Linked DNA regions of Homo sapiens: region 2 is linked to region 1. The links are contacts of gene promoters, found by promoter capture Hi-C in blood cells and fetal thymus (Javierre and others, 2016). All regions are on one chromosome and are shown on one strand. Each heading gives the region's core, a stretch centred on a gene start or on the middle of the fragment in contact. The rest is flanking DNA. Distances are from core to core; before and after follow the strand shown.

Region 1 (5,144 bases), core at 227-2,726:
TAGGGGTCAGGGTTCCTCACCAGACAGGGCCAGTTAATTCGGTCGAAGCGCTGGTAGTACTGGGTGGCATAGAGGAAGAGGAAGGCAAGTGTGATGAAGAACTCCAGTAGCGCCGCGGCCATGTAGGCAGAGATGGAGGCCGTGAAGCAGATGAAGATGATGAGGGTCAGGGCCTGCAGGACCGAGCATGTGGAACATGCCAAGAAGGGGACACAGGCAGGGGCCAGGGCTTTGCCTTCCCCTCCTTGGAAGCTCCCCTAGGCTGGCACCTACTACCTGTCCTTGGAGGGGAGGAAGGACTCTGGCACATCTCCCTATCCCCTGGTGTCAGGAGCCACCGTTGCAGGGCATTTGCCGGTCAAGGGCAGTCTCCGGCCTCCCACTCTGCTCACCCAGCAACCCCAGCAGTCTGGCCAAGCCATATGGCTCCCAGGAGCACTATCCCACAGTAATTCATAGGTACAGTGTGAATGCCAGCCCCTGGAGTTGTGCCCACAGAGACCCGACTCCACAGGGACCAAGAGGAGCCCCCTGCCTCATAATGCTTTCCCCACCCCCAGATGCCTGAAAGCCCCCTGACAAGGACCAGAGCCTTTGATTCCATGCCAAGAGAGAAGGCAGATGCTGCCCAGTGGTTTCTGGGAGCCCCTTTAGCTCTGATGACCTAGGGTGGCATACGTGCAGAGGCCTTAACTCTACACTGTGGTCTTGCTAAGTAACCAGGGGAAGATCCTTTCCTGAGAAGAGATGTTTCTGGGCAGCAGACCACAGATAAAGTGCAGTTGCAGGAAGTCTGCCCTTTTTGATAGTTAGACTTCTTGGACGTGCTGAGAAGTGGCCATGTTAGAGGCTGTCATTGCCCCTGTCCCATCCCTATGTCTCAAGCTTCCTCAATGTCCCAAAAAGTCACCCTGTCTAACTGCAGTCCTTCCTGCTGCAACTGAAACCTGCTGTAAATGTCTCCGGGTGGAGAGGCAGCAAGAAGGCAGAGTAGGAGACGAAGAAGGGGCAGCTGCGGGCAGGAGAGGTGTCCAGAGGGCTTGGGGAAGGAGGCTACTGAAGGGTGAGCTGGGGGCTGGCATAAGGCTGGCCAGGAGCCGGGGGTCAGGGAGATGGAGGCACCAGGTTGGGAGGCAGCTGTTACCAGCTCGGTTTCCAGCAGGATGCCCTTGTGGGAGGTGAGGAAGGCCTTGTCCACCGCGAAGCCCTGGAGCTCTGCAACTACCCCCTCCTCAGGGTGCCGGTCCCGGCGATCTCGAGCACTGAGCATCTTCGTAGGGCCCACCAACACAGCCCCCTACTGCCAAAAGCCCAGCAAGAGAAACAGAAATCTGGCAGGATGGGGAAACAGACAGGAGCAAGAAGGCACTTCGAGAAACCTGAAAGTGAAGCAGGAGGCTTGCCCACAGGGCCCCGGGAGAGAAGGCAGGCGCTGGGGGCCTTGCCCAGATGGGCCCTCACCCAGCTGCCCAGAGTGCCTCTGCTGCTGCCTGCACCAGCCCCCTAGAGACCCATGGGGAGGGGCAGAGAGGAAGGAGGCTCTAATCCCTCCCCTTGCTTAGAGCCCAACCCAGCCTGGAATAGAGAAGGAAGGGGAGAGGAGGAGGTCCGAAAAGAAACTGGGAGGAGCTGGGATGTGAGTAGAGGAACAGGGGCAGGACTGGGAGCCCCCAGGGACCTAAGCCTGAAGACATTTGTGTCCCCCTTCTCTAACCTTAACCCTCTTGTTTGGCCGGTCCTTTCTCCCATTTCCTTTTAGGGAGGGTGTGAGCTGGAGCCCAGCCCAGGCAGCACCCCCAGGACCAAGCTGCAGCAGCCAGGACTGGAGGACAAAGGCGGATTGTTGGGGGACAAGGGGGCGCTCTGTGCCTGCTGCAATGCCTCAATGGGCCTCTGTCTCTCCAGCATGCCGGGAGCGCGGCCTAGCCCCCACCCTGGTGTTTGGGATGGGCCAGGGAGACAGAGATGGGAGAGGACGGGAGGGTGCAGCGGAAACTCTGGAGGGCGGAGAGAGCTGGCAGGGTGGACAGAGGTGAGGGCCAATGGTGGAAAGGAGAAGGGACAGGCTGGGAGACCGCGAGATGTTCAGGCACCACGGATGCCAAATACAGATTAGGCCATTTTTAAATAAAGATATTTATTTGGATAAATCTCTATACATTCAATAACAGCTTCCTCCTCAGAATCATCCATGTCAAAAGACTAGTAACTACACTAGAATGCACCCAAAGTAGATGCTCACTGAGTGATGAGTAAACAAACAAATAAAACCAGGGGCTCTTTCTTCTCCAGCAAGGGGGAAATATCTAGAAAGTGCCTGTGCTGGGCCAGGGTAGCAGGGGATGGGAAAAGAGGAAGAGACAGGAGTGGTGGCCTCCAGAAATGGGCAGAACTTTGAAAACCTTTCCTGAGAGAAAATGACAGGACACCAGCTTCCGGCGGCCCTAAGCAGCAGCTGCTCTTTTCAAAATGTGCAGAAGTGCAGGCTTTCCCCAAAGCCCCCCATCCTGTCCCGGGATCCTGCTGCTCCAGACAGCACTTCACAGGGGCCAAGCATCTGGGCATCCTGGCCCTTCATGGCAAGTGGTTGTACACCTGGCTCCAGGTTTCCCAAAAAGGGACCAGCCTCCAGCAGGTCCGGCTAGCCCATCACACGGGGCCGCACACACACACAAGCTAAGGAAACACGGTACAGCCTGCGCTCCAGGCAGTAGCCCTTGTGGGTGCCCTTCTCGCCATGGCATGGCCGCCGGTAGAAGACAGTCTGGTTGTGGTAGAGCAGCTCCGAGTTGCCCCGGGGGTCCATGTGGGAGCCTGTCTGTAGGCTGACGCAGTGCGGGCACAGGCAACGGGCGTGGTACAGGTCCTGGGGGAGCCGGTTCAAGTCTCTGTCCAACCTGTGGGGGCGGCACTTGTCAGGCCTTGGAAAGATGGGCCGGAAACAGAGAGGGTGGGGTGGCATGGGAGTGCCAGAAGAAGGAAATGGTCCGTCTGGGGCCTTGGCCTCTTGTCTCAGTTCTGAACCCACTTGCTGTGTAACTTTGAACAAGTCACCTCCCTCCTTTATTAAATTTTCCCCACTGTAAATGAGGGTAGCAGGTGACAGAGTGCTTTCCAACTGGTCCTGGGACCGTGAGGGAGGCAGGGGAGGGTGAGCAGGCTCCTGCCTTAGCCTCCATTGACCAGCACTGCTTCTATCTGACTCAGCATGAGGTTTCTTATTGTAATGATTACACTTTAGGTGTTTTTGTTTGTTTTTTGATTTTTTGTTTTTGTTTTTTTGAGACGGAGTACCCAAGCTGGAGTGCAGTGGCACGATCTTGGCTCAACTGCAACCTCTACCTCCTGGGTTCGAGCGATTCTCCTGATGCCCGCCACCATACCCAGCTAATTTTCATATTTTTAGTAGAGATGGGGTTTCATGATGTTGGCCATGGTTGGCCAGGCTGGTCTTGAACTCCTGACCTTAGGTAATCCACCCACCTCGACCTCCCAAAGTGCTGGGATTACAGGCATGAGCCACCGGGCCGGACTTTAGGTGGTGTTTCTATTATTATTATAGCATTATTGCAAAAGTAAAAACCACTCTGACATCCAAGTATTAAAGAGTATAAAGAGTGAAAGTTAATAGTCTCTCCCTACCAGCCCCACTCCCCAGAAGAAGCTATCCTCAACTATTTCCTGCACATTCTTCCAGACGCTGTGCAAGCTTATATTATAAGCATACTTGAGAGTGCATGGGAAGACTTATTTACTTATTCTGAAAGGATTTCATGGCAAAAAAAAAAAAAGAAAGAAAGAAAGAAAGATGAAAAACACTGAAAAGTAGATGTCCCACAGGTCTGCGACTCCATTAGTCTGGCAGGCGACAGTCTCCAGCTTGTGGGACCATTCCCCACACAGACAAGCCCTGGCAAATGGAATTAGCTAGCACATCACTTCCCAAAGTGGGTTCCCTAATAAATCACCTGCACCTGTTGGGTGCTTAAATGAATTTGGGAAACACCAGTTTAACGGTTTACTTTCTACAGACTTCTTGCAGACTTTAATGTACAATGACAGTATGAATCTCCAAGGGGTAGGAGATACAGCAGTCTTTCCCAAGTTTACCTGGCATCACTTTTTTCTGAGAAGCAGCTCATGGGATGAGCATTGCACAGAACACACTTTGGGGAAAGCCACCTGAGTGGTTCTCGGGTTCACAGACTCCCAGCAAGGGGTCTGGAAGACAGCTGAGTTAACCTCTGGCACCCGCCTCCCCTAAGAAGCTCCCATGCCATCTGATTTGGCCCAGGACCCAGCCAGCTTCTGAGACCACTCCAAAGAGTCATGACCTGTAGTGTCCACACTAGATCCAATCTCAGTTAGATCTGACCCCCTCCCCACCACTGAACTTCTCCATCTACCCCCAAAGCCAATGCTAAGACAGAACTAGAAGGAAGAAGTGAAATCACATGTCTGGAATCCCTAAGACCCTAGTTTTTAATATTTTGCTTCATCATTCATATTTCAGCACTTCCTAATATTTTTCATATCATGGCACAAATAGAGAACTATAATATTTATGTGGCACACTGAGTGAAAGAATACAGTACCCATGATCATGATCAAAGATATCCAGTCCACAGCTCCAGCCAGCCAGCTGCCCCCAAAAGTTAAGGGTTTCACTCCTTTAGTATGCTTATAACTAACCCATTCATGGCCAGGGCAGTATCAATTGGTATTGGGATGCTTCATGCCTGTATCATGCCATTATTCCCTAATATTTTACCCAGAAAAAACATGGGCCATTATAGGGATGTTTTAAAAGAAAAGGAGAGAACCAACATAAATACAGACTTTTACATACATTATATTTCATTTGATCTGCACATTAGCCTATGGGGCATTATATCATTTTGCAGGTGAAAAAAAAAAAAACCCTGAGTTTTGAAAACTTGAATTGACTCAAGATCATCCAATGAGAGTCAGAGCTAGGACTCAAATACAGACCTTGTCTAACTCCCAAACCTTTACAGCCCCTCTGAGATCAAAATGGGAAAGTAAGCTGGAATTGCCCTGGTCCCTCACGCATACCCTGGCCAGCACACACAGGGCAGGCATTCGGGAGGGGCAGCAGACTCACTCATATCTCCAGGGGGAGA
Region 2 (4,555 bases), core at 1,074-3,573, 250 kb after region 1:
CCCTTTTTTTTTTCTTTGAGACAGAGTTTCACTCTGTCATCCAGGTTGGAGTGCAAGGGCATGATCTCTGCTCACTGCAACCTCCACCTTCCGGGTTCAGGCAATTCTGCCTCAACCTTCCAAGTAGCTGGGATTATAGGCACGTGCCACCACATCTGGCTAATTTTTGTATTTTTAGTAGAGACGAGGTTTCCCCATGTTGGCCAGGCTGGTCTCAAACTCCTGACCTCAGGTGATTCACCCACCTCAGCCTCCCAAAGAGCTGGGATTACAGGCATGAGCCACTGTGCCTAGCCCATAACATTTCATCTTATGCCAAATTCATTTTATCGACCTCTTACTTTTAGGCACTTACGATATTTCCAATTTTTTCTTTCTCTTTTTTTTTTTTTTTTTTTTTGAGACAGGTTCTTGCTCTGTTGCCTAGGGTGGAGTGCAATGGCACAATCACAGCTCACTGCAGCCTCAGCCTCCCAGGCTCATGTGATCCTGTCACCTCAGCCTCCCGAGTAATTAGAACAACAGGCACATGCCACCACACCTGGCTAATTTTATTTTTATTTTTTGTAGAGACAAGGGTCCACTATTTTGCCCAGACTGGCCTCAAACTTCCGGGCTCAAATGATTCTCCCGCCTCAGCCTGCCAAAGTGCTGGGATTGCAGGTGTTACCCACCGTGCCCAGACAGGATATAATTTTTTTAAACTCAATCCCACAAGACAGGATATAAATTTTTAAGTACAATTTACATACAATAAAATATGCAGGCTGGGCGTGGTGGCTCATGCCTGTCATCCCAACGCTTTGGGAGCCCGAGGTGGGAGGATCATTAGAGCCCAGTTCGAGACCAGCCTGGGCAACATGGCAAGACCCTGCCTCAATTTTTTTTTTAAAAAGCAGATCATAGGCTGGGCATAGTGGCTCATGCCTGTAATCCCAGTACTTTGGGAGGCCGAGGCGGGCAGATCACCTGAGGTCGGGAGTTCGAGACCAGCCTGACCAACATGGAGAAACCCCGTCTCCACCAAAAATACAAAAATTAGCTGGGTGTGGTGGCGCATGCCTGTAATCCCAGCTACTCGGGAGGCTGAGGCAGAAGAATCGCTTGAACCTGGGAGGCGGAGGTTGCGGTGAACCAAGATCGTGCTATTGCACTCCAGCCTGGGCAACAAGAGTGAAACTCCGTCTCAAAAAAAAAAAAAAAGCAGATCATAAATGTTCATTTTGATGAGTTTTGTGGGGGTTTTTTTGTTTGTGTTTGTTCATTTTTGTTTTTTATTGTTGTTTTTTAGAGGCAGAGTCTCACTATGTTGCCTAGGCTGGCTTTGAACTTCTGGGCTCAAGCAATCTTCCTGCTTCAGCCTCCCAAGTAGCTAGAAATATAGGTGTGTGCCACTGTGCCTGGCTTCCATTTGATGAATTTTGACAGTTGTCAAAATTCAACCACTACCCAAAACAAGATAGAGAACATTTCCACCACCAATTCCCTACTCCCACAAAGACAACTAACTACTCTCTGACTAGGACAAGAGTGTTTTTAGGCCAGGCGCGGTGGCTCACGCCTGTAGTCCCAGCACTTTGGGAGGCCGAGGCAAGTGGATCACGAGGTCAGCAGTTCAAGACCAGCCTGGCCAAGATGGTGAAACCCCGTCTCTACTGAAAATACAAAAATTAGCTGGGCATGGTGGCACACACCTGTAATCCCACCTTCTCGGGAGGCTGAGGCAGAGAATTGCTTAAACCTGGGAGGCGGAGGTTGCAGTGAGCCGAGATTGCAGCACTGCACTCCAGCCTGGGCGACAGAGTCAGACTCCATCTCAAAAAAAAAAAAAAAAAAAAAAATAGAGTGTTTTTAAAGCTTTCCATATGCAGTTCAGTCCCAGTGTATTAGGGAATCTGCATCCTTTGAGGATGTGAGGAATGCTTTTAAAGAGATGAAGATTTTAGGCAACAGACAGAGGCTGCTCCTGCAGCCTTCCAGGCATTGGGAACACCCCACTGAGTGACAGTACAATTATCAGTAACCCTGAGCCACCCATACCACATTCAGGGTCTAACATACCCAGGGTTCATCCACTTTTCCACTGGCTGCCTCTGGTTTGCTTGCACCTGCATTTGTGAACACAGGTTCTGTGACTGGTGGGGTGGAAAGTATGCATGTGAAGGCGGGTGCCTGGTTGGAGTGGGGATGCCCCTGTGTGGGCAGAAGGTAGGCAAGGATGAAGGAGCTGGGGCTTGGTGGTCCCTGGGTTATCCCAGGCTGACCTGCTTTTCTCCCTGACAGGCTGTTCTTCGCTGGAGCCCGAGAGGGCCACCTTCCCAGTGTGTTGGCCATGATCCACGTGAAGCGCTGCACCCCAATCCCAGCCCTGCTCTTCACAGTAAGGGCCCTTCCTGCTGTAACTCTCCACACACCTCCCTCTCTTTGTGCCTAGTCTAAGCTGGGAGTTCATGCTTTTCACACACACCCCTGTTACCCTTGCAGTCTGCTGCTAGGTCTCACTGGATCTTAGAGGATCTGGCAAATGATACCCATCATCTTTGTTAATATCAAGAGATATAGCAAGGAAAGATCCTGAGTCTTGAAATACCTAAGGCTCTCAGGCTGACTTATTTCCGTTCTCCCATCCTTTTGGGTCAGACTGAACTGACTGTCTCAGGATTCTACAGCCTCAAAAAAAATATATCTCCCTTGGCTCTCCTCGCACCTGTTACCACAGGGTTGCAGCACTGGCCTCTGCTCCTGGCTGGTTGGTCCCTGCAAACACCCACTTCCCCCATCAAGCTTCAGGGCAGCCTGCCAGTCTCTTGGGAAACATCATTGAAATGAAGTTAGTGTTAACAGTACACCAAATACGAAAAATAATAGAGGAAGACTGATAAACTGGAAACTGTGCAAAGGAAACTTGGGACAGGAAAGAGATGGGAGTAAAATATCCCCAGAGTAGAATCATTTTGAGAGAGCTATAGGAAGGAACAAAGACTTGTCCCCATTGAGTCTTTTGAGTTATTTTTATTTTCCTTCTGGATCCTGAATAAAACACTAAAAATGACTTTGGTCCACTGGTGAAGCAGTTAGCAATCAGAATAACAGAGCTCTTGGGAGCCAAGAGCATTTTACAGCATTGCTGTACAATTTCAGAATGTTCAGATGCAGGATGAAGGTCACCTTGACTGGTTGGTTGTCGAAGGTGGCTGGAGAAGACAGTACTCCCAGTGGGCCACACACATTTTTTTGTTTTGTTTTGTTTTGTTTTTTCCAGTTAGAGCTATTGGTGCAGTAGTGTGACTAAAAGGCAGATGTAGCAAGAACCATTAAAATCTTCTCGATTATTTTAACCATCGGATCTCACAAGAGAACAGAACCTTTTGTTGACCTTCACAAGTTATCAGAGGGGAGGAGCATGGTTCCAAGAGAGCCACAGAGATGATTTTGAAGTTGGAAAGTAGACTCTGTCAAGAAAACCTCATAGGGATGTTATGAGGGTTAAGTGAGTTAATCTTTGTCAAATGCTAAACATAGAGACCTGGCACACAGTAAGTGCTATGTAACCAGTTTTGAAATTAATAAAGAAAAGGAAGGAAGAAAAATAGATGACTCAGCCAGGAGAAAAGGATGAGGGCAGGAATACAGCCTTAATCTGTTGTTAACAATCTTCCCTAAGGGATTTTAAAAAAATGAATTTAGCTTGAGCTATAACCAACAGAGGCATACAAATGAGACCGGGGCTGACACAGAGCCAGGTAATACCAGTGTGGCCAGTCTAGCTGCTTATGTCCAGTATCCATTCTAATTGGCTAGTGCCCGTGCCATACGAGTGGTTAAATATTTTGATCATCACCCCTGTAATAAGAAAGGATTTCCTAGCAATAAAGATGTTGTAACATATTGGGTTACTAGGGGAGGTTCTAAAGTCTCCATTTCGAGACATCCATTATACGATGGCATCATCTGCCTGGAGGCTGGGGGACAGCCCCTAATCTGTAATACCAGTCTCTGAATATCTTTCGGATCACTGATGAGCTCCTCCCACTTTCCCAGTGCATCTCCACCCTGCTGATGCTGGTCACCAGCGACATGTACACACTCATCAACTATGTGGGCTTCATCAACTACCTCTTCTATGGGGTCACGGTTGCTGGACAGATAGTCCTTCGCTGGAAGAAGCCTGATATCCCCCGCCCCATCAAGGTGAGAGAAACTCCCTTTGGGGTCCCCTCCCCTTCCTCTATGGTTCTAGCTGCAGTTCAGATTTTTAAATCACCTCTGTTCTTAGCTGCTGACCACACGTCATCATCTCTGATGGTAGCAGACCCTTTGGAAAGCAAGGGCCATTTGTGAATGGGACCACTATTTCCATTCTCCACTGGGGATGAGATCGGAGCAGACTGCAGCTGGGGAATAAGTCAGATCAAATGTGACTTTCATCATGACATTCCTTTGTTTCCTACCAGTCTAAGCCTTAAACTCCAGCTGACTTTTCAAGGTTCTCTTATCTCCCCAACACTTCCTCCTTGTCCCTCCAGATAGCTGGGTTCACTATGTGCTATGTCTC

What was found. The method cuts DNA at HindIII sites, captures the fragments that hold promoters and counts their contacts. A CHiCAGO score of 5 or more calls a contact.
Region 2: a contact is called between a fragment that was not itself captured here and the fragment with the promoter of CMTM5 in region 1, in 3 of 17 cell types (total CD8 T cells, activated CD4 T cells and naive CD8 T cells). The highest score is 5.6, in total CD8 T cells.

What each region holds. Positions count from the first base shown.
Region 1 is chr14:23,373,378-23,378,521 of GRCh38, reverse strand. It overlaps CMTM5 (CKLF like MARVEL transmembrane domain containing 5), which reads right to left and starts at 1,476. Exons shown (of 6, transcript NM_001288746.2): 1 at 1,145-1,476; 2 at 21-173. The coding sequence starts at 1,270. It overlaps IL25 (interleukin 25), which reads right to left. Exons shown (of 3, transcript NM_172314.2): 2 at 5,126-5,144; 3 at 2,119-2,897. The coding sequence ends at 2,642. The HindIII fragment of the contact is 2,824 bases long and covers 888-3,711 here.
Region 2 is chr14:23,129,286-23,133,840 of GRCh38, reverse strand. It overlaps SLC7A8 (solute carrier family 7 member 8), which reads left to right. Exons shown (of 11, transcript NM_012244.4): 8 at 2,284-2,380; 9 at 4,042-4,191. Among named protein-coding and RNA genes, the nearest start is that of CEBPE, 12 kb to the right of the region's middle. The HindIII fragment of the contact is 927 bases long and covers 1,860-2,786 here.